Regions from separate parts of the Homo sapiens genome. Here regions 1, 2, 4, 5, 6 and 7 are each linked to region 3. Evidence: promoter capture Hi-C in human tissues and cell types (Jung and others, 2019). All regions are on one chromosome and are shown on one strand. The core of a region is centred on a gene start or on the middle of the fragment in contact, and the rest is flanking DNA. Distances in the headings are between cores, read along the strand shown.

Region 1 (3,208 bases), core at 25-2,524, 450 kb after region 3:
GGCATGTGCCACCATGGCTAATTTTTGTGGTTTTTGTTGAGACGAGGTTTTGCCCTATTGTTCAGGCTGGTCTCGAACTCCTGGATTCAAGTGATCCACCTGACTTGGCCTCCTAAGGTGCTGGGATTACATGCATGAGCCACCACTGCTGGCCATCATACCCTTTTATCTATCTGAATGTTTTGCAGATACTCTCAGTTTCTTCCTTCAGCTTCTTCAGATCTTTGCTCAAATGTCACCTTCTCAGTGAGACCTTCCTGTTCATGCCTTTTTAATTTCTATTTTGGCCAGGTGCTGTGGCTTACGTTTATAATCCCATCACTTTGGGAGGCCAAGGCAGGAGGATGGCTTGAGCCTAGGAGTTCAAGACCAGTCTGGACAACTTGGTAAAATCCTATCTCTACTAAAAATACCAAAATTAGCCAGGCATGGTGGCATGTACCTGTAACCCTAGCTACTCAGGAGGCTGAGGCATGAGAATCACTTGAATCTGGGAGGTGGAGGTGCAGTGAGCTGAGATCACGCCACAGCACTCCAGCCTGGGTGACAGAGCAAGACTGTCTCAAAAAAAAAAAAAAAAGAAAAGAAAAGAAAAAGTGAAAAGCATGCAAATTTATATCATATAAATTTACGTGACTAAGACCTGGAGAAACAGATAATGTGTATTTATGTTTAGGTTTGATGAAGAGTGGACAATCGTGGAGAAATACGATTGGACAAAAGGGGTATGATTGACTGGTAATACACTGGGGGAAATTTAACAAGTCCTATTTGTTCAGATTCTTCTCTGTGTCCTTTTGTTTTCAGAGAAGGATATTTCTTTCCTTGGGGTATAAGGAGGGCATCTCTCAAAGGAGGGTCATATGACCCGTTTCAGGGGAAGGTCAGAAAATCTTTCATAGGCTTTATGACCTGCTTTATGGGAGAAGGGTGAGAGGAAGCTGAGAGTGACTTCCTGCTTTTCCTGTTTTCTTAAATGCCAAGGTGTCATGTTTTGGGGTAAGGTATCTTAAACCCCATCAGCCATGTCCTGTCTACTGATGAGCCCATCAAGGCATTCTTCACTTCTATTACAGTGTTTATGATTTCTAGCATTTTCTGTTGACTCTTATAGTTGCTATATCTCTCCTTACATTGCCCATCTATTCTCATGTGTTGTCTGCTGTTTCCATTAGAGCCCTGAACCTAGTAATCATAGTTATTTTGCATTACCTGTTTGATTATTCTAAAATCTGTCCTATCTGAGTCAGGTTCTGATGCTTGCTTTATTTCTTTTTCACACTGTTTCTTCTTGCCTTTTAGTGTGTTTTGTAATTTTTCATTGAGAGCTAGACATTGACCTTCTTCCTGCTGATCAGTTCCTCTTCCTTACCCCTCCCTAGTTCTTGTTTAAAAAAGAAAGCTGGACATGATGTATTAGGTAATAGGAAATGAGATAAATAGTCCATTAGTATTGTTAGTATGGTGTTTCATGTTAATCTGGCTAAGAGTTGGTCTGTGTTTAATGATTGCTGTAACTGTTGGTATCTGAGGCTTCAAATTCCTCTAGTGTCCTTGTTTCTGTCTCCCCTGTTATCTTTGGTTTTCCCTAAAAACTCCTTCTTAAATAGAGTGTATGCCTTTCAGCCCTAATTCCCTGTTGTTGTACTGGAGCCCTGTTGGTGTGACAGCAAAGTATGGGGGAGGGGAAGCATTCTATAGCCTCATGGTCAAATCCTAGTCTTTTAGTGGGCCTGTGTCCCAGGCTATGACTGTCACTCATATTTAACTGTTTTTCTCCCCTTAGATGAAACAGAAAGGCTAAAGAGGGCTGGAGTCAGGGGACTTCTCTTCCACCAGGTAGGATAAGGCTCTGGTAAAGTCTTCTTCCCTGGAGAGTAGGCCATTGCTCTGGGCCTATTTCACTATGGTTACTTCCCACAACTAGAGCTAGGAGGGAATCTTTCTTGACTCTTTACCAGGATAATCTTGTAAAGAAGGATTTTTTCTTCTGTTTTATTCAGCAGTATACCACTAGCACCAAAACCAGTGCAGAGTACATAATAGATGCTCAATAAATATTTGTCAAATGAATGAATGCCTCTTATCTAAGCTCTAGAGATTGTTACCTAGATGTGGGAAGTTTCTTAACTTATAATGATAATAGGCCGGGCGCAGTGGCTTACGCCTGTAATCCCAGCACTTTGGGAGGCCAAGGTGGGCGGATCACCTGAGGTCAGGTGTTCGAGACCAGCCTTAACATGGAGAAACCCCGTCTCTACTAAAAATACAAAACATTAGCTGGGCGTGGTGGTGCATGCCTGTAATCCCAGCTACTCTGGAGGCTGAGGCAGGAGAATTGCTTGAACCTGGGAGGCGGAGGTTGTGGTGAGCCGAGATTGTGCCATTGCACTCCAGCCTGGGCAACAAGAGCGAAATTCCATCTCGAAAAAAAAAAAATAAAAAAAATTATAATAAACTGATGACATTTCTCTGAATGAAATTAGTCCCTAGTGTAGTATTTGCTTATTAGGTTCTGTAGTGTTTGTTTAATCTAAAACCCTACCTTAGATGGGATTGTTGTAGACCAGTAGTCTCAAGCTTTTTTGACTGCAACCTTTAGTAAGACATACATTTTATATCTTAAAACAGTATATGTGTGTGTGTGTATATATATGTATGTATATTTATTTTAAAACAGTATATGGATATATATATACACATATGTGTATATACAATACACATATGGATATATATACACATATGTGTATATACAATACACATATGGATATACACATATGTGTATATACAATATACATATGGAGATATCATATATGCACCTATTAATATATATACATGTATATTTATTTGGTAAAACTTTTTGTGAAATAATACTTTCCTTTGTGTGTGATATACTTTTATATTTTCTTTTTTTTTGAAACGGAGTCTCATTCTGTCACCCAGGCTGGAGTGCAGTGGTGCGGTCTTGGCTTATTGCAACCTCTGCCTCCTGGGTTCAAGCAATTCTCCTGCCTCAGCCTCCTTATTAACTGGGATTACAGGCACCTGCCACCACGACCAGATAATTTTTGTGTTTTTAGTAGAGATGGGGTTTCACCCTGTTGGCGAGGCTGGTCTCGAACTCCTGACCTCAAGCAATTCACCCACCTCAGCCTCCCAAAGTGTTGGGATTACAGGCATGAGCCACCGTGCTCGGCCTATATTTTCT
Region 2 (3,322 bases), core at 730-3,229, 460 kb after region 3:
TGTATTTTTACAATAAAATAAGCTAGAGAAAAAATCATAAGGAGGAAAAAAATTTTACTATTTATTCAGTGGAAGTGGGTCATCATAAAGGTCTTCATCCTCATCATTTTCATGTTGAGTAGCTGAGGAGGAGGAGGAAGAGGAAGGATTGGTTTTGCTATCTCTTGGGTGGCAAAGGCAGGAGAAAATCCATGTAAAAGTGGACCCTTGTAGTTCAAACCTCTCTTGTTTAAAGGTCAACTGTATGATGTTTAGCATCTTTTTTTTTGTTTGTTTTTGAGACAGAGTCTCACTCTGTCACCCAGGCGGGGGTGCAGTGGTGTGATCTTGGCTCACTGCGACCTCTGTCTCCTGGGTTCAAGCGATTCTCATGCCTCAGCCTCCCAAGGAGCTGGGTTTACAGGCATGTGCCACCACACCTGGCTAATTTTTGTATTTTTAGTAGAGATGGGGTTTTGCTATGTTGGCCAGGCTGGTCTCGAACTTCTGACCTCAAGTGATCCGCCTGCCTCAGCCCCCCAAAGTGCTGGGATTACAGGTGTGAACTACTGCACCCGGCCAGTGTTTAGCATCTTATATATTTAAGGGCGGTTGTATTTCCTTTCCTATGGATTGCCTGTTCATGTTCTTTGCCTGTTTCTTATTACATTATTGATTGTTTTTGTAGTCTTGAAATATTTTAATTATATTTCTTGGAGTCTTTTGCCTTGCTTCTGCCCTTTTGAGTAGGGAGATGAGTTAGAGTGAACTAATATGGTTTTAAACTGGGGGCTACAGACTTTATTACCTTAGCTAATAATTAGCAAGTCTAGGTCAAAGCAGAAGTTGGCCTATTGGACCTGGTAACATCCTGAGGTCTCTGTTTTGGGGCCATGTTATTCAGCCACGCACACTTACTTCTTTTCTTTTTTTCTTTCTTTTTTTTTTTTTGAGACGGAGTCTCGCTCTATCGCCGAGGCTGGAGTGCAGTGGCGTGATCTTGGTTCACTGCAACCTCTGCCTCCCAAGTTCAAGCAATTCTCCTGCCTCAGCCTCCAAAGAAGCTGGGATTACAGGCACCTGCCACCACACCCGGCTAATTTTCGTATTTTTAGTAGAGACAGGGTTTCACCGTATTGGTCAGGCTGGTCTCAAACTCCTGACCTCAGGTGATCCACCCACCTCGGCCTGCCAAAGTGCTGGGATTACAGGCGTAAGCCACTGCACCTGGCCTCTTTTCTTTTTTTGAGACAGTCTTTCTCTGTTGCTCAGGCTGGAATGTAGTGGCATGATTACAGCTCACTGCAGCCTCAAAATAGGCTCAAGCAATCCTCCTGCCTCAGCCTCCTGAGTAGCTAGGACTTTAGGCATACACTACCATACTTAGCTAATTCTTAAATTTTTTTTATAGAGATAGGTCTTGCTGTGCTGTCCAGGCTGGTTTCAAACTCCTGGACTCAAGCAGTTCTCCCACCTTGGCCTCTTAAAGTGCTGGGATTACAGGTGTGAGCCACCGTGCCTGGCCCCCACCTCGGCCTCTTAAGGTGCTGGGATTATAGATGTGAGCCTCTGCACCTGTCCAGCACATACTTCTAAAGGCTTTTTTGTTGCCTTTCTTGAAGGTGAATTTTCTTACCAGGGTGGAAAGAGCCAGCTTGATAATACTGGTGTATCTCATTATACACATATTTAACCTACACAGATTTGGTAATACCATTCAGGAAAATGGTGGGGGGAAAGAGAAAGAGAGAAATAACCATTTAAATAGCGTAGGTGGTTCTTTTTCCCGTGCATTTCATGAAGAAAGCTGATAGTGTAACCTGTGGGGTGTGACTGCGCGGTTTCCAGTTCCCTTGTGCCTGCCCACAGTGTGATCCTGGTGTTTTAAGGTATATTTTTAAATGCATCGAGGCCCTTAAACGTAGGACAGCTATTTTATTTGATATTTTACTAGAGAAACACTGAAAAACTGATCTCTGAAAAGCATAGTATAATAAAACAAGAAACAAGCTGTTTGGAACTTATTGAGAGAGCAGATGCCAGACTCTATTGTGGTCCCTTCTTAAGAGCTTTTTCAGTGTATAATTTTGTCTTTATATGATTTTTGCCTGATTTGTTGACTTTAAAAGCTAAATCTCACATAAAGTCGTGACTCTGTGTATAAAGATATATTTCATGAAAGAGACTTTCTAGATAAACTTGCTCATATCTTTATTTTAGCCTGTCTTTTAAGAACAAGAAATATTCAAAATATCACCCTGCTGATTAACTGTAGGTTACAAATGTGTCAGTGGAGAGACCTGGCCAACTCCACATTAAGCAGATGTTCAAACTTAGTATCCCCAATGGCAGGACAACCTAATGTATGTGGTAAGAGGTACACGACATAACTTATGTAGTATTCTTCTTTCTTTTGAGTCAGGGTCTCACTCTGTCACCTAGGCTAGAGTGCAGTGGCACAATTACAGCTCACTACAGCCTCGACCTCCTGGGCTCCAGGGATCCTCCTATCTCAGCCTCTCGAGTAACTGGAACTACAGGTGTGAGCCACTACACCTGGCTAATATTTTATTTTTTGTAGATTTGGGGTCTTGCTGTGGTGCCCAGGCTTGTCTCGAACTCCTGGGCTCAGGTGGCCCTTCTGCCTCGGCCTCCTAAAGTGTTGCAATTACAGGGTGAGCCACTGTGCCTGGCCTTTAAACCGAATCTAATCATGAGGAAACAATTGTAATCACCCAGTGGGTTCTTCTTGCCCACTGCACAGATAAAATAAATTCACTGCTGGGCGCGGTGGCTCATGCCTGTAATCCGAGCACTTTGGGAGGCCTAGGTGGGATCATGAGGTCAGGAGTTCAAGACCAGCCTCGCCAAGATGGTGAAATCCTGTCTCTACTAAAAATACAAAAAAATTAGCTGGGTGTGATGGCAGGCGCCTGTAATCCCAGATACTTGGGAGGCTGAGGCAGAGAATTGCTTGAACCTGGGAGGCAGAGGTTGCAGTGAGTCAAGATTGCACCACTGCACTCCAGCCTGGGTGACAGAGCAAGACTCCATCTAAAAAAATAATAATAATAAATAAATAAATTCACTGGGACTGTAGCATTGCATTAGAGAAAGAGTTTAATTGACACAAAACAGGCCATATGGGAGACAGAGTTATCACTCAGATCAGTCTTCCTGGAGGCTCAGAGATTAGGGTTTTTATAGACAATTTGACAGGTAGGGGACTAGGGAATGGGTGCTGCTTATTGGTTGGGGATGAGATTATAGAGGTGTGGAAAATGGTCCTGTGCTGAGTCCACTTCTGGGTGGGGCCACAGGATAATTTGTTTCACGAGTCAAG
Region 3 (3,010 bases), core at 173-2,672:
ATTGGGGTCCAGCCCTGCAAAGGAAGTTACAGCCCTGGTGAGTGGGAACAGCTGAACTGCATCATCCTCAACCTCCCTACCCCTGCCCCCGGTCCTGGCTGTTCCCATTGACAAGAGGCAACAGCAGATGGCAAATGTAGACAGCAGCTCCTCTTCTAACTGGAAAACGTCCCTCATCTCGGTCCATTACCAAGCGTTCAACCTGGTTCCCAACTCTGGTAATTAGGTTATCGAGCTCACTGTAGAGCTGAGATGAGAAATCATCTTTCTACGGTGCGACCCTTCCGAACACTCCTCCCACTTCTGAGGTACCTGTGGGCTCCCAACTCCTAACAGAGGTTCTGCAGCTTGAGACCCCACTTGTTTTTCTGACCATCTTGAACCGACGGGCTTGCTGTGCAGGAACAATCACCCCGACCCCAGCAGAGCCCGCATTCCGCGAGGCATCCTGTGGTACCACGGGGGAATGGCCTAGCCCCCTGGGCTGGGTCAGGCTGGCGGGGGCTAACCCCCACTTCTCCAACTCCACCGTGGCGGATCTAACTGGGGCCGAAGAGCGTGTTTGCCTCAGAGAGCAAGGGAGCAGAAAGCAGACGCCAGGCTGTCAGGTAACAGCGGAACTAGGGGACCTCTCCTCGCCCCTGCGTCCTATCTGAGCGGGCTCTACCCCACAGGAGCTTCTATCCGTCCTGAGGCCTCTCCGCTCCCGCATCCCACTTCGCTCCTGCGGGAGGTCCGGCGTATGAACCGCGACCACTTCTGCGCTCTCGCGGAGTCGGGCAGAAGAGACGCGCGCGCTGCTCCAGCAGCCCCGGTCCCCGCCGCCCGCACCTGAGATCTGCACCGCCTGGAAGCGGGGCACGCAGGCCAGGAAGCCGGCGACGCTCTCGCAGCCCTCGGGAAAGGTGACCAGGCGGCTGTCAAGCACTCGCAGGCTGGGGTTCACGAACACGCGCAGGGGGAAGGGCTCCATTTGGCGGAGCGCGCGCTGGCGGGGCGGGCACTCCCGACACAGCGCCTCGGGGAGCTCCAGCGCCAGCACCTGCCGCGGCACCCCCAGCTGCGGCGCGCTTAGGCCCACGCAGCGCCGCCGCCGCATCACCTGGACCAGCCGTTGCGTCAGCCGCTGCAGCTCGGGCCCGCCTAGCTGCGCCCGCTCCACCGGGGCCGCCACGCCGCGCAGCACCGGGTCCCCGACTTGGCACACGTGCGAGAACGGCGGTTCGGGAGGACCCAGCACCAGACGCCTCAGGTGGCGCCAATAGGAGCGCCGCAGCGCCGGGCCCTCGACGCCGTCCGGGGCGGCCGTGGAGCTGCAAGCCCGGACACCGACGGCTGCCGCCCCGCCCCACGGCACGGCCGCCCACAGTGGCCAAAGACTCAGCGCGCCCCACAGCCGGGCCATGGCGGCCCCCTTAACAGTGACCCGGCCCGCCCCTTCCGGCCGCAGCGCGGGGCACGCCGGGAAGCGCCGTCGGCCAGCACACAGCGAAGCCGCGACTGGATCCCCGCCTTCCTGCTTAGACTGGCAGTGAGCACCGCCCCCTTCCGCTCTCCTCCCGGGAGCGCCTTCCCGCCTCCCGAACCCGCCCCGGACCTTCCAGGGCGAGGCAGTCCTGGCCACCCCGCGCCGGGAACCTCACGCACCGCGTTCTGGAGGCAGGGGACGCCGGCTAGGGCCCCACGCTGGGCGGTTCGGCCTGCGTCTCCGCTCGCCCTCCCTCCGGGCAGGCTGGGCCCGCGGGCTCCAGGCGTGGCTCCTCGGCGGGAGGCTCTGGTGCTGGAGCTGTGAGCTCGGGCCCCAGCGCCTGGTCATCCAGGGTGAAAAGCGTCTCTCTCTTTGGCAGGATAAAGGCGAGGGGCTCCTGAATGGCGCCGATGTTCACATGCCCTAGGTTACCGTACTTGGAGAGCTGAGTGGGAGGAATGCCTAACCCAGACGTGGGGAAAGCAAAATGGAAAACAGTTACTAATAAAACTCAATATAGAAATTTAAGGGAGGCCGGGCGCGGTGGCTCACGCCTGTAATCCCAGCACTTTGGGAGGCCGGGGAGGGGGGGGCGGATCACCTGAGGTCAGGAATTCGAGACCAGCCTGACCCACACGGAGAAATCCCATCTCTCTTAAAAATACAACATTAGCCGGGCTTGGTGGCGCAGGCCTGTAATCCCAGCTACTTGGGAAGGCTAAGGCAGGAGAATCGCTTGAACCTAGGAGGTGGAGATTGCAGTTAGCCGAGATCGCGCCATTGCACTCCAGCCTGGGCCACAAGAGCAAAACTCCGTCTCAAAAAAAAAAAAAAAAAAAAAAAAGGAAATTTAAGGGAAAAAAAACGAGCCATTACTATTTTTTTTTTTGAGACAGTCTCGCTCTGTCGCCCAGGCTGGAGTGCAGTGGCGTGATTGCTGCTCACTGCAACCTCTGCCTCCCAGGTTCAAACAGTTCTCATGCCTCAGCCTCCGTGGTAGCTGGGATTACAGGCGCCCGCCACCATGCCAGGCTAATTTTTGTATTTTTAGTAGAGACGGAGTTACTATGTTGGCCAGGCTGGTCTCAAACTCCCAACCTCAGGTGATCCATCCGCCTCGGCCTCCCAAAGTGCTGGGATTACAGGCATGAGCCACTGCGCCCAGCCATCAATTACTATGTTTTAATACAGCAAAAACCACCTTTGTTACAGGGAATGGGAAGCTATACTGTGAAGCAGAACGTAACGGAACAGCAGTGTAGGGTGCCTGCAGCAGGAACCCAGACCTCAGGCAGCACCAGGGAAAAAGCAGAGGGCAGCCAGGCTTTGCACGTGTGATGCACTGACCCATTGCCCTTTGGGAAGCTGTGCCTCAACCAAGCCCCTCTCCTACCACAAAGGGACAAGGACGTGAAAGTGAATTGGAAAAAAGACTTTAGGACGGGCGTGGTGGCTCACGCCTGTAATCCGAGCACTTTGGGAGGCCGAGGTGGGCGGATCACAGGTCAAGAGATAGAGACCATCCTGGCCAACATGGTGAAA
Region 4 (3,310 bases), core at 461-2,960, 430 kb before region 3:
GCATCTCACAATTGCATATTTTAAATTATTTCCACTTTCTGGATGATCTAATGTTATTACCTCAGAACGTAAATTCCTGTTGGTCATAGTCCATGTAACATTCATGGGTGACTGCTATCCTGTTTGGATTTCACATCACATTCAAAGTGCTGCTGTTTGTTGAAGTGTTGAAATATAATTATATATTCATGGTTAACTTGGTAAAGTTGTAAAACACCCCTTCAGTTTGATGGACTTGAGGAAAATAGAAAAACACATAGATTGCAAACAGAATTATCAGTACAAACGCAAGCTGCTATTCTGCCCAGCAACAGTTATCAAGAAGATGTTTTTGGCCAGGCACGGTGGCTCACACCTGTAATCCCAGCACTTTAGGAGGCTGAGGCGGGTGGATCACCTGAGGTTAGGAGTTTGAGACCAGCCTGGCCAACATGGTGAAACCCCATCTCTATTAAAAATACAAAAATTAGCCAGGCATGGTAGTGCATGCCTGTAGGCCTAGCTACTTGTGAGGCTGAGGCAAAAGAATTGCTTGAATCAGGAGGTGGAAGTTACAGTGAGCTGGGATCGTACCACTGCACTCCAGCCTGGGCAACAGGGCGAGACCATCTCAAAAAAAAAAAAAAAAAAAAGAAGGACCAGGCGTGGTGGCTCACACCTGTAATCCCAGCACTTTGGGAGGCCGAGGTGGGTAGATCACTTGAGGTCAGGAGTTCAAGACCAGCCTGGCCAACATGGTGAAACCCCATCTCTACTAAAAATATAAAAATTAGCCGGTTGTGGTGGCTGGCGCCTGTAGTCACAGCTACTCAGGAGGCTGAGGCAGGACTGTCACTCGAACCCAGGAGATGAAGGTTGCAGTAAGCCAAGATTGCGCCACTGCACTTCAGCCTAGGTGACAGAGTGAGACTCTGTCTCAAAAAAAAAAAAAGAAGTTTATTTAAAGAAACTCTATAAGAGCAGCTTGGATTTTATATCTTTAGATCCAGAGTTTTTACTTTTCTGGAATTAAATATAATTGTTTGGAATTTACTCTTTATTGTTGAATTTTAAAGCGTGACTAAAGTAGTGCTTCTTAAGATAATTGTCATGTGTTTTTGTTTTGTTTTGTTTTGTTTTTTGGTGCTGAGTGTTGCTCTGTCGCTCAGACTGGAGTGCAATGGCATGATCTTGGCTCACTGCAACCTCTGCCTCCTGGGTTCAAGCAATTCTCTTGTCTCAGCCTGCCAAGTAGCTGGGACTACAGGTGCGCGCCACCATGCCAGGCTAACGTCGTGTTGTTTTAGGAGTATTTGAATACAGTACTTCATTTTCACAATTAAAATGGCTCACAGAAGCTTAGAAGGGACGTTTATCCATTTTGGCTTTTCCTTTAACATAGAATGTTGTGGAGAAAACATGACTGATCTGAAGGACTCTGGAAGATTCTGGGATAATACAGGAAATATCCTAAGCTAAATATGTAGGTTATTCATTCTATTAGAGGAATATGAAGTCCATGTTCTTAGTGAACTGGCACATTGAGACATACTGCCTGATGAGATGGGCTGCCAAATTAGTAATTGTACTTTTCAATGAGATGAAGAAACATCTATCTTTTTTTTCTCAACTTAGTCTGAAAAAATTTTATGTCATTGGTCACTGAAATAACACATATTCTTTGTACAATACAAAAAACACATAAAGAGGAAAACAAAAGTCAACTAGTATCTTATTTTCTGTTCACATTATTTTAGTGTTTTGCTTTTTAGTGCATCTTCAATGCCTTTGTATTTGTTTATATGATAATATGGTATAATAATATAGTATCTTGAGCTGGGTATGGTGGTTCATACTGGTAATCCCAGCACTTTGGAAGGCCAAGGTGTGAGGATTGCTTGAGGCCAGGAGTTCAAGACCAGCCTGGGCAACATAGCGAGACTCCATTTCTTAAAAAAGGCCAGGCGCAGTGGCTCATGCCTGTAATCCCAGCATTTTGGGAGGCCGAGACGGGCGGATCACCTGAGGTCAAGAGTTTGAGACCAGCCTGACCAACATGGAGAAACCCCGTCTCTACTAAAAATACAAAATTAGCCGGGCGTGGTGGCATGGTGGCGCATGCCTGTATTCCCAGCTACTTGGGAGGCTGAGGCAGGAGAATTGCTTGAACCTGGGAGGCAGAGGTTGCGGTGGGCCGAGATTGTGCCATTGCACTCCAGTCTGGGCAACAAGAGTGGAACTGTGTCTCAAAAAAAAATAAAATAAAATTGGGGCTGGGCGCAGTGGCTCACGCCTGTAATCACAGCACTTTGGAAGAGGCTGAGGTGGGTGGATCACGAGGTCAGGAGTTTGAGACCAGCCTGGCCAACATGGTGAAACCCTGTCTCTACTAAAAATACAAAAATTAGCCAGGCGTGGTGGCGGGCACCTGTAATCCCAGCTACTCAGGAGGCTGAGGCAGGAGAATCACTTGAACCCAGGAGGTGGAGGTTGCAGTGAGCCGAGATTGCGCCATTGCACTCCAGCCTAGGTGACGAGCGAAACTCTGTCTCAAAAAAAAAAAAAAGTTAAAAAAATAGTAAGTACACACACAGGTGTATATATATGTATACATAGTATCTTTGTCTCTTGTCAGAATAATTAAAAACTAAAAGCCATAGTACCTCATGGGAAAGTACAAAAATTTCTTGCCCAGCCTGGGCAATGTGGCAAAACCCGGTTTCTACAAAAAAATACAAAAATTAGTTGGTTGTGATGGTGCCCCTCTGTAGTCCCAGCTACTTAGGAGGCTGAAGTGGGAGGATTGCCTCAGACTGGGAGGTTGAGGCTGCAGTGAGCCACGATCGCACCACTGCACTCCAGCCTAGGCAATGAGTGAGACCCTGTCTCAAAAATTAAAAAAGAACAAAACAAAAAATGGCCGAGCACAGTGGCTCACCTGTAATGCCAGCACTTTGGGAGGCCGAGGTGGGCAGATCACGAGGTCAGAAGTTCGAGACCAGCCTGGCCAACATAGTGAAACCCTGTCTCTACTAAAAATACAAAAAATTAGCTGGGCATGGTGGTGGGCGCCTGTAATCCCAGCTACTCAGGAGGCTGAGGCAGGAGAATCGCTTGAACCCAGGAGGCGGAGGTTGCAGTGAGCCAAGATCGCGCCATTGCATTCCAGCCTGGGCAACAGGAGCGAGATTCTATCTCAAATAAATAAATAAATAAATAATTATAGAAATTTTCGCAGTAACCATAGCACTGATTTAGCCAGATTTTATAACTTGGTAATCATGTTCAACCTACTCATTTTTCTGAACCTTTATGCATTTTCTTATCTCGG
Region 5 (3,131 bases), core at 244-2,743, 350 kb before region 3:
GAGGTCAGGAGATCAAGACCATCCTGGCTAACACGGTGAAACCCCATCTCTAATAAAAATACAAAAAATTAGCCAGTCGTGTTGGCGGGTGCCTGTTGTCCCAGCTACTCGGGAGGCTGAGGCAGGAGAATGGTGTGAACCTGGGAGGCAGAGGTTGCAGTGAGCCGAGATCACGCCACTGCTCTCCAGCCTGGGCGACAGAGCAAGACTCCGTCTCAAAAAGAAAAAAAAAAAAAAAAGAAAAATAGCTTTTGTATGATAGTTTTCAGAGATTTCCATTTCACAGCACAGTCTTAAATTCAGGTGAAAAGGGAGGTTGGAAGTGTGAATAATTGGATACCAGTCTGGGAGTTTAGCATTCATGGATTTTGGCAGCAATAAACAGCAGTCAAGTGTTAGAGCTCACATATTTTTAAAGAAGAAATTTTCATCAAAACTCAGGATCAAATGAAATGCTCCCTGCTGAGTCTGCCTAGGCTGGCATCAGTGTAGTTCAATTCAACAAACATTTATATTAATATAAATGGAAATACTAATATGGCCAGAATTGAAGGTTGAAATCCAGACTAAGTAACTATTTTTCCTTTCCCGTTTCTCTTTTTCTTTCTCACATCAATTTTTTGATGGCTATAACTTATTACTGATATAATAAGGGGAAGGGAAAAGTCTATAGATTGAACTATACTTCCTACTTATATTAGACAGTTTGGATTTTTTTTTTTCAAGCTAGGATCTTGCTCTGTTGCCCAGGCTAGAGTGCAGTGGTGCCATCACTGGCTCACTAGAGCTTCCACCTCCTGGCCTCAAGCCATCATCCCACCTCAGCCTCCCGAGTAGCTAGGACTGTAGGCATGCATCACCATGCCCAGCTAATTTTTTTATTTTTTGTAGATGTGGGGTCTCACTATGTTGCCCAGGCTGTTCTCAAACTCCTGAGCTCAAGTGATCTGCCTGTGTCAGCCTCTCAAAGTGTTGGGATCACAGATGTGAACCACCACACCTGGCCCAGAAAAATATTTAAAAGTATGAAAAAGAAAATAATCACCTATAATTTCACTTTGGAGTAACTACTCTTTGTTTACATTTTGATGTATTTTCTTCAAGCTTTTTTTTTCTTTCTCAGAATTGTAATTACACTGTATGTATATATACTGCTTTTTTTTTTCTTGGTTAACATTATTTGTAAGTACTTTCCTATGTCATTAAATATTTCTTTGTTGTTGTTAGTTTTTTTTTAAATAGAAATGGTGTGTCACTATGTTGCCCAGGCTGGACTCCAACACCTGGGCTCAAGTGATCCTCCTGCCTCGGCCTCCCAAAGTGTTAGGATTACAGGCGTGAACTACCATGCCTGGCCTATTTCTTGAAAATATAATATTGACTGTGTTATAATCTAATTATGTAACTACCTGAATTTATTATACTTTTATTTAATTATCTCTGGGAACATATTGTTTAATTAGGTTGTTTCCAGTTTATTACTGATTATGACAAGTGTTCTGTTGATTATTCTTACATATAACTCCTTTTGATGATTCTTTGGTTCTTTCCTTGGGATTGGTTTCTACAAGGGAAGTTATTAGGTCAACATATACTTCTTGATATTTAGCACCGGCGGGTGCAGTGACTCATGCCTGTAATCCTAGCACTTCGAGAGGCTGAGGCAGGCAGGTCACTTGAGCCCAGGAGTTCAAGACCAGCCTGGACAACATGACGAAACCCCATCTCTACACAAAAATACAAAAATTAGCTGGGGGTGTGGTGGCAGGCACCTATGGTCCTAGCTACTCAGGAGGCTGAGGTGGGAAGATCACCTGAGCCCGGGAGGTCAAGGCTGCAGTGAGCCATGATTGTGCCACTGTACTCCAGCCTAGGTGACAGAGTGAGACCCTGTCTCAAAAAACACATTTTTTAAATTTAATTTTAAAAGATACTTAGTGCCAAGCTGTCCTCCAGAAATGTACAGTCTTTTCAGCAGTGAATTAAACTGCTAATATCTCATAGAGAAAAACTATTTCATGGCTTCAGACTAAATGTTTTTCGGGTTTTGTTTTGCCTTTTTTCTTTCTCTTCTGACACCTTTGGTATAAACTAAATGTTTAACCCTGACCAGCCATCTCCAAAATGTGCAGCTTTGCTCCCAGAATCAAGGAACCTGTCAGGGGAGGTGGGTGGGTGGAAGAGGGGAGAGAGGGACTGAGGGATACATGACTCAGTGTGAACCCTTTGCTTCCCTGGAAGAGCAACTCAGAGCTGGTGGTGTCATCATGACGTACAAAGAACAGTACTTCTTAATTATTTTTAGAGGCAGAATGTAGCCTTGTAATCAGCAAGCTAAGACAAGTTCCAGTTTACTCTAGGCCAGAGACTTCTAAAAGTCAGAACAAAAATAGCCAGATTCATGTTGCTCCATCTGAAGAGTTTGCTTTTAGGAGAGATCAGGAATTCATATTTTGAATGAGGACTGAGGGGTGAGAATTAAGTCTCTGATCTCTTCTGTCGTATGCCACGGTAAGTAGAGTGACCCCCAGGAATCCTGAGGCAAAGCAGCTCCTCAGATTACTCTATATTCTAGGAAAAGGGTGAGTCCTAGGCTTTACGGGGTGTTTCCGGCTGTAAAACACCCTGATTCAATGTGCTTTGTCAACTCTTTTCCATGTCACCTGCTTGATTTTTGTGTTTTAGTTTAGCAATCACTTTACCCCTTCAGTTCATCCAAGTGATGAGTATCACATGGCCCCAGGTCTCTAATGGTTCATGCAGCTCCAGAATGAAGCCATAATCCAATTTTAGAAAACGTATCATCTGGGCCGGGCGCAGTGGCTCACACCTGTAATCCCAGCACTTTGGGAGGCCCAGGTGGCAGATCACTTGAGGTCAGGAGTTCAAGACCTGCCTGGCCAATGTGGTGAAACCCGGTCTCTACTAGAAATACAAAAATTAGCCAAGAGTGATGGCACACACCTGTAATCCCAGCTACTCAGGAGGCTGAGGCAGGAGAATTGCTTGAACCTGGGAGGCAGAGGGTGCAGTGAGCCAGGATTGCGCCACTGCACTCCAGCCTGGGGATAGAGTGAGACCCCTATAATCTGTCTAGAGTGGAGAAAATTCAGCCCCAAATTCTGCTCTGA
Region 6 (3,182 bases), core at 357-2,856, 360 kb after region 3:
AGTGTTGACTTGGTCCAACAAGTTTTAGAGGCACAGCAGCAGTTATCTTCAGTTTTATTTTCTGCTCCAGATGGTAATGAGAATGTTCAAGAGCAGCTTAGTGCAGATATTTTTCAACAAGTCAGTCAAATTCAGAGTGGTGTAAGCCCTGGAATGTTTTCCTCAACAGAGCCAACAGTCCATACCAGACCAGATAATTTATTACCTGGAAGAGCTGAAAGTGTTCATCCACAGTCTGAAAACACGTTATCTAATCAACAGCAGCAGCAGCAGCAGCAACAGCAAGTGATGGAATCTTCAGCCGCAATGGTGATGGAGATGCAACAGAGTATCTGCCAGGCAGCTGCCCAGATTCAGTCAGAGTTATTCCCTTCAACTGCTTCAGCAAATGGAAACCTTCAGCAATCGCCAGTTTACCAGCAGACTTCTCACATGATGAGTGCATTGTCTACCAATGAGGATATGCAAATGCAGTGTGAATTGTTTTCTTCTCCTCCTGCAGTTTCTGGAAATGAAACTTCTACAACTACCACACAGCAGGTTGCAACCCCTGGCACTACCATGTTTCAGACATCAAGTTCAGGAGATGGAGAAGAAACTGGAACACAAGCAAAACAGATTCAGAACAGTGTCTTTCAGACCATGGTCCAAATGCAACATAGTGGGGACAATCAACCTCAAGTTAACCTTTTTTCATCCACAAAAAGTATGATGAGTGTTCAGAATAGTGGTACCCAACAACAAGGTAATGGTTTATTCCAGCAAGGGAATGAGATGATGTCACTTCAATCTGGAAATTTTTTGCAGCAGTCTTCTCATTCACAGGCCCAACTTTTTCATCCTCAAAATCCTATTGCCGATGCTCAGAACCTTTCCCAGGAAACTCAAGGTTCTCTCTTTCATAGTCCAAATCCTATTGTCCACAGTCAGACTTCTACAACCTCCTCTGAACAAATGCAGCCTCCAATGTTTCACTCTCAAAGTACCATTGCTGTGTTACAGGGCTCTTCAGTTCCTCAAGACCAGCAGTCAACCAACATATTTCTTTCCCAGAGTCCCATGAATAATCTTCAGACTAACACAGTAGCCCAAGAAGCATTTTTTGCAGCACCGAACTCAATTTCTCCACTTCAGTCAACATCAAACAGTGAACAACAAGCTGCTTTCCAACAGCAAGCTCCAATATCACACATCCAGACTCCTATGCTTTCCCAAGAACAGGCACAACCCCCGCAGCAGGGTTTATTTCAGCCTCAGGTGGCCCTGGGCTCCCTTCCACCTAATCCAATGCCTCAAAGCCAACAAGGAACCATGTTCCAGTCACAGCACTCAATAGTTGCCATGCAGAGTAACTCTCCATCCCAGGAACAGCAGCAGCAGCAGCAACAGCAGCAGCAACAGCAGCAGCAACAACAACAGAGCATTTTATTCAGTAATCAGAATACCATGGCTACAATGGCGTCTCCAAAGCAACCACCACCAAACATGATATTCAACCCAAATCAAAATCCAATGGCTAATCAGGAGCAACAGAACCAGTCAATTTTTCACCAACAAAGTAACATGGCCCCAATGAATCAAGAGCAACAGCCCATGCAATTTCAGAGTCAGTCCACAGTTTCCTCACTTCAGAACCCAGGTCCTACCCAGTCGGAATCATCACAGACCCCCTTGTTCCATAGCTCTCCTCAGATTCAGTTGGTACAAGGGTCACCTAGTTCTCAAGAGCAGCAAGTAACTCTCTTCTTATCTCCAGCATCCATGTCTGCCTTGCAGACCAGTATAAATCAACAAGATATGCAACAGTCTCCTCTTTATTCCCCTCAGAACAACATGCCTGGAATTCAAGGAGCCACATCTTCGCCTCAACCACAGGCTACTTTATTTCACAACACAGCAGGAGGCACAATGAACCAACTGCAGAATTCTCCTGGCTCATCTCAGCAGACATCAGGAATGTTCTTATTTGGCATTCAAAATAGTAAGAAACTCTAATTTTTCATTACTTAATTGGTCATTATTATTATTAGAAGGAAGCAGAGTGCAGTGGTGCGATCTCAGCTCACTGCACCTGCACCCTCTGCCTCCCAGGTTCAGGTGATTCTCCTGCCTCAGCCTCCCAAGCAGCTGGGATTACAGGTGTGCACAACCACGCCCAGCTAATTTTTGTATTTTTGTTAGAGGCGGGGTTTCACCATGTTGGCCAGGCTGGTGTTGAATTTTTGACCTCAAGTGATCCGCTGGCCTCGGCCTCCCAAAGTGCTGGGATTACAGGCGTGAGCCACCACACCTGTCCTGTATAGTTGTTTTAAGAGTACAGATTGTAGTTAGAACTCTATCACCTATAGACTATAAGATCTTGTACAAGTTATTTGGCTTTTATGGGTCTCAATTCTCTCATTTAAAATGGTGATAATATTACATACTTTACATGGATTTGGGGAGGATTAAATATGGCAATGTATAAAAATGTGTGTTTGCCATTTTAAGCTATAAACTTAAAAGGAAAATGAAGTCAGAATGACAGATAATACCTTACCCAGTTGAAGTAAGTAGTTTCTAAGGAGGTAGAAACTCATCTTTAATGTTTATATACCAAGGAATTTATATAGGACTTTTGATATTTAAGCAAAGTTGTATTTTTAGACTGCTTAAAGGAAACCTAAGATGAATTCCAGTGCCAGTCTGTGAAAACCTTTTTCTTGGACTATCAGGTGCCTAACTTTTAGTAATATACAAGGAGAATGCAGTAATGAATTTTCCCCAACAACTAATAAATATCTTTTCATGAATCTTTACTAATCAGATAGCTTCTATTTTTAATGTTTCTGCAGACTGTAGTCAGCTTTTAAGCTTCTGTTTTCAATGTCTCTGCAGACTGTAGTCAGCTTTTAACCTCTGGACCAGCTACATTGCCTGATCAGTTGATGGCCATAAGTCAGCCAGGCCAACCACAAAACGAGGGCCAGCCACCTGTGACAACACTTCTTTCTCAGCAAATGCCAGAGAATTCTCCACTGGCATCCTCTATAAACACCAACCAGAACATCGAAAAGATTGATTTGCTTGTTTCATTGCAAAACCAAGGGAACAACTTGACTGGCTCCTTTTAACTGGATATGTAAGTATTGCATTTTGGCTTCTTATTGAAAAGCATCAGATTTTATTCTTCTTAACAGATT
Region 7 (3,189 bases), core at 83-2,582, 320 kb after region 3:
AATCTGCTATTATCATTTTGCAGTATTTTCTTTCATCTCTTTGTATGTATATTTGGGGGATATTTCTACATAGTTTCAATAAATGAATATTTTTACTTTAAGATTAGTATAAAACAGAATATCATAGACTTTCATGTGTGAGGAACTGCACACTAGTTAGACCAAATGTTTGAATCTGTACCCAGAATGATGAAAAGAAAAACAGGGTTTACTGCCCATTGTTCCAGCTTCAACTTGATACTTATGTTCATAGAATTTATTCTTCCAGGGCCTTTTAAATGACTTGCACAAGTAATCTTTGATTTACTTATGTCAAATTTACACGAATGGCATTCCTTGTCCAGTTAGGATCTTTCTCATCTTAATATTACAGAAGCTTCTTTATCCCTCTGCTTTCCTTTCTTTGTCCCTTTCTTCTTCTTTGCCTTCATCAACAAACATTTCTTCAGCACCTGTTATGTTTCAGGAAGTGTGCCAGGTTCAGGGAATATAAAGATGATTAAGCACAGTATTGCGCCTTGAGAACTTTTCCTCTCATCTATCAGTCTTACTGAATTCCTATGCTAGTTTCATTCCTTCTTTGCTCCATTCTTTTGCCTCTTTCCTAGCCAAGGATTCAACCTACTCCCCATTTCCATTGAAGATAGTGCCTTTCCTCACTTTGTTCTTGATGATTAAGGCAACAACTTGGTTACAGCTGGAGGGGTAAACATTAGAGCCAGGTTTAAGCCTGCTTAGCTTCTCTGTGTTTGAAGTCGTAATATTCCTACTGGAATCTGGTTGCTTTTAGAGGAGATTTTTCTTCACAGTCATCTGGCTCCTGGATCTTTGATGTGAGTCAAAACTTAGGACTAGGAGGGTCACAGAGAAAGCTATGACCCTGACTTTATTTAAAAACATACGTGAATTTTTTTTTTTTTTTTGAGACGGAGTTTTGCTCTTGTTGACCAGGCTGGAGTGCAATGGCACGATCTGGGCTCACTGCAACCTGCACCTCCTGGGTTCAAGTGATTCTCCTGCCTCAGCCTCCCGAGTAGATGGGATTACAGGTGCCTGCCACCACTCCTGGCTAATTTTTTGTAGTTTTAGTAGAGACGGGGTTTCACCATGTTGGCCAGGATGGTCTCAAACTCCTGACCTCAGGTGATCCACCCCGCTTGGCCTCCCAAAGTGCTGGAATTACAGGTGTGGGACACCACACCATTGCTCAAAAGGAAAGATAACTAACAATATTGTTTTTACTTGTTTTTATTATGTATTTGCAGTGCTTCAACTATTTTACAGATTAAATGTGTTTGCCTGAAGTCATAACCACCATTTGGGATACTGTTTTTCTTTGAACATGCATTCCACATAGCAAATGCATTATAAATAAATGTTAAAAAGCATAACTAAAAAAAATAAGGGCCAGGTGCAGTGGCTCATGCTTGTAATCCCAGCACTTTGGGAGACTGAGGCGGGAGGATCACCTGAGGTCAGGAGTTCGAGACCAGCCTGGACAACATGGTGAAACCCCATCTCTAACAAAAATATAAAAATTAGCTGGGCTTGGTGGCACACGCCTGTAATCCCAGCTACTTGGGAGGCTGAGGCAGGAGAATCACTTGAACCCAGGAAACAGAGGTTACAGTGAGCTGAGATTGTGCCACTGCACTCCAGCCTGGATGACAGAGTAAAACTCCATCTCAGAAAAAAAAAAAAAAAAAGGTAGAATGCTGGTGCTGTAAAGCCCAGATTGTAAAAATTTTTATTGAGGGCTTTAATTACTTAACTAATCACAGATAAAAATAATCTGAAAAATCACACTCCTAGAAAAGATTGTTTAGAGTAAAGCTAATTTCCCAATAAAAATTGAATCGCTAATTTTTTATCTAATTTCTTCAGTTTGGTTTACTGAGAAGGATACTCAAAAGAATAAGCTACATATACCTTCATTTGGTTTGTAGGCCATTTTGTATGGGGGTATGTAGGGTTTTTGGGGGTTTGTTTTTTGTTTTCGCTACCCTCACTTCTTTTACTGTGCAGTTAAAAAATAACAGTAGTTAATCTTATAGCTTTATATAAATTTTGGAATTTATATGTGGAATGCATACATGGAATTTTTAAATCTTATTTTGACTGAAGTACAATGTTAAAGGTTATAGTGACATTAGCTATTCTTTCCTGTTAGTCTCAGTTTATTGCGCTCAATCTTCCTCCCTTCCTCCTACCACTCACATACGTTCATTTTCTTTTCTGTCAAACATACTTTGTTTTATTTTTGCATCATATAGTAAACTTTTTTACAAAACCTTTTTAAAGATACTTTGCTCATGTATCTTCCTTTAGGCAATATTTTATTTTGCCAGCAAGCTGAATAGTTGTTTTTACTATTATTGCCAGTTCTGTTTCTTCCTTTGTCTTAATGGCTTTTTTTTTTTATCAAAAAACTCTTTTTGATACTTTCTCCATGTTGTGCTTTGATTTCTCAGAACATTGGAAAACCAAAAAGGAACTGGAGTAAAGAAGAGCCCTATGTTGTGTGGACAATATCCTGTTAAAAGTGAGGGAAAGGAGCTGAAGATAGTTGTACAACCTGAGACACAGCACCGAGCTCGGTACCTGACTGAGGGCAGCCGTGGCTCAGTGAAAGATAGAACACAGCAAGGCTTTCCTACAGTAAAGGTATTTACTTTATTTATCATTTGAATTTTAGTTAAAATGTAAAGGGGAATGAGAATATGTCCTGAAAAGTAAAATATTTTCAAATCATGAATTTTCTTCCCTCATATTTGATATTTGAATTAGATTCATCCCAAACTTTAGAAAGAATTTTTTTTTTTTTTTTTTGAGACAGAGTCTCACTCTGTCACCCAGGCTGGAGTGCAGTGGTGTGATCTCAGCTCACTGCAGCCTCTGCCTCCGGGGTGCAAGTAATCATGCCTCAGCCACCTGAGTAGCTGGGACTACAGGTGTGTGCCACCAGGCCCAGCTAATTTTTGTATTTTAGTAGTGTCGCAGTTTCACCATGTTGGCGAGACTGGTCTGGAACTCCTGATCTCAAGTGATCCTCCCGCCTTGGAGGAAGAAATATTAAAGTGAATTCAGAGAAATACAGTAGAAATTATTAAGAACTTTGAAAATAAGGTTTTTGAGATGGTTATAGTAATCAAGACTATTGGACTGAGAAAAGACTTGATTAATACTTAA

The links. The method cuts DNA at HindIII sites, captures the fragments that hold promoters and counts their contacts. A contact is called where the count stands out against the background at its distance.
Region 1: a fragment that was not itself captured here is called in contact with the fragment with the promoter of PDF in region 3 in 1 of the 25 tissues and cell types used here (spleen).
Region 2: a contact is called between a fragment that was not itself captured here and the fragment with the promoter of PDF in region 3, in 1 of the 25 tissues and cell types used here (dorsolateral prefrontal cortex).
Region 4: a contact is called between a fragment that was not itself captured here and the fragment with the promoter of PDF in region 3, in 1 of the 25 tissues and cell types used here (H1 embryonic stem cells).
Region 5: a contact is called between a fragment that was not itself captured here and the fragment with the promoter of PDF in region 3, in 1 of the 25 tissues and cell types used here (lymphoblastoid cells).
Region 6: a fragment that was not itself captured here is called in contact with the fragment with the promoter of PDF in region 3 in 4 of the 25 tissues and cell types used here (lymphoblastoid cells, mesenchymal stem cells, small bowel and 1 more).
Region 7: a fragment that was not itself captured here is called in contact with the fragment with the promoter of PDF in region 3 in 5 of the 25 tissues and cell types used here (IMR-90 fibroblasts, hippocampus, lymphoblastoid cells and 2 more).

The regions. Positions count from the first base shown.
Region 1 is chr16:69,774,403-69,777,610 of GRCh38, forward strand. All of the region lies in intron 1 of WWP2 (WW domain containing E3 ubiquitin protein ligase 2), which reads left to right. Among named protein-coding and RNA genes, the nearest start is that of WWP2, 14 kb to the left of the region's middle. The HindIII fragment of the contact is 4,000 bases long and covers 1-3,208 here.
Region 2 is chr16:69,790,316-69,793,637 of GRCh38, forward strand. The region is part of intron 2 of WWP2 (WW domain containing E3 ubiquitin protein ligase 2); the gene reads left to right. Among named protein-coding and RNA genes, the nearest start is that of WWP2, 30 kb to the left of the region's middle. The HindIII fragment of the contact is 7,902 bases long and covers 1-3,322 here.
Region 3 is chr16:69,329,166-69,332,175 of GRCh38, forward strand. PDF (peptide deformylase, mitochondrial) reads right to left here and starts at 1,423. Exons shown (of 2, transcript NM_022341.2): 1 at 832-1,423; 2 at 1-14. The coding sequence starts at 1,405. It overlaps COG8 (component of oligomeric golgi complex 8), which reads right to left. Exons shown (of 6, transcript NM_032382.5): 5 at 1,648-1,930; 6 at 1-14. The coding sequence ends at 1,674. RefSeq lists enhancers at 789-1,436, 2,085-2,732 and silencers at 1,061-1,440, 1,471-1,860. The HindIII fragment of the contact is 3,727 bases long and covers 1-2,117 here.
Region 4 is chr16:68,903,004-68,906,313 of GRCh38, forward strand. The region is part of intron 9 of TANGO6 (transport and golgi organization 6 homolog); the gene reads left to right. Among named protein-coding and RNA genes, the nearest start is that of TANGO6, 61 kb to the left of the region's middle. The HindIII fragment of the contact is 3,745 bases long and covers 1-3,310 here.
Region 5 is chr16:68,983,816-68,986,946 of GRCh38, forward strand. The region is part of intron 15 of TANGO6 (transport and golgi organization 6 homolog); the gene reads left to right. Among named protein-coding and RNA genes, the nearest start is that of HAS3, 120 kb to the right of the region's middle. The HindIII fragment of the contact is 7,055 bases long and covers 1-3,131 here.
Region 6 is chr16:69,692,259-69,695,440 of GRCh38, forward strand. It overlaps NFAT5 (nuclear factor of activated T cells 5), which reads left to right. Exons shown (of 15, transcript NM_138713.4): 13 at 1-1,981; 14 at 2,878-3,121. The coding sequence ends at 3,113. Among named protein-coding and RNA genes, the nearest start is that of SNORD13H, 15 kb to the right of the region's middle. The HindIII fragment of the contact is 7,332 bases long and covers 1-3,182 here.
Region 7 is chr16:69,650,765-69,653,953 of GRCh38, forward strand. NFAT5 (nuclear factor of activated T cells 5) reads left to right here. Exons shown (of 15, transcript NM_138713.4): 5 at 2,472-2,664. Among named protein-coding and RNA genes, the nearest start is that of SNORD13H, 56 kb to the right of the region's middle. The HindIII fragment of the contact is 9,035 bases long and covers 1-3,189 here.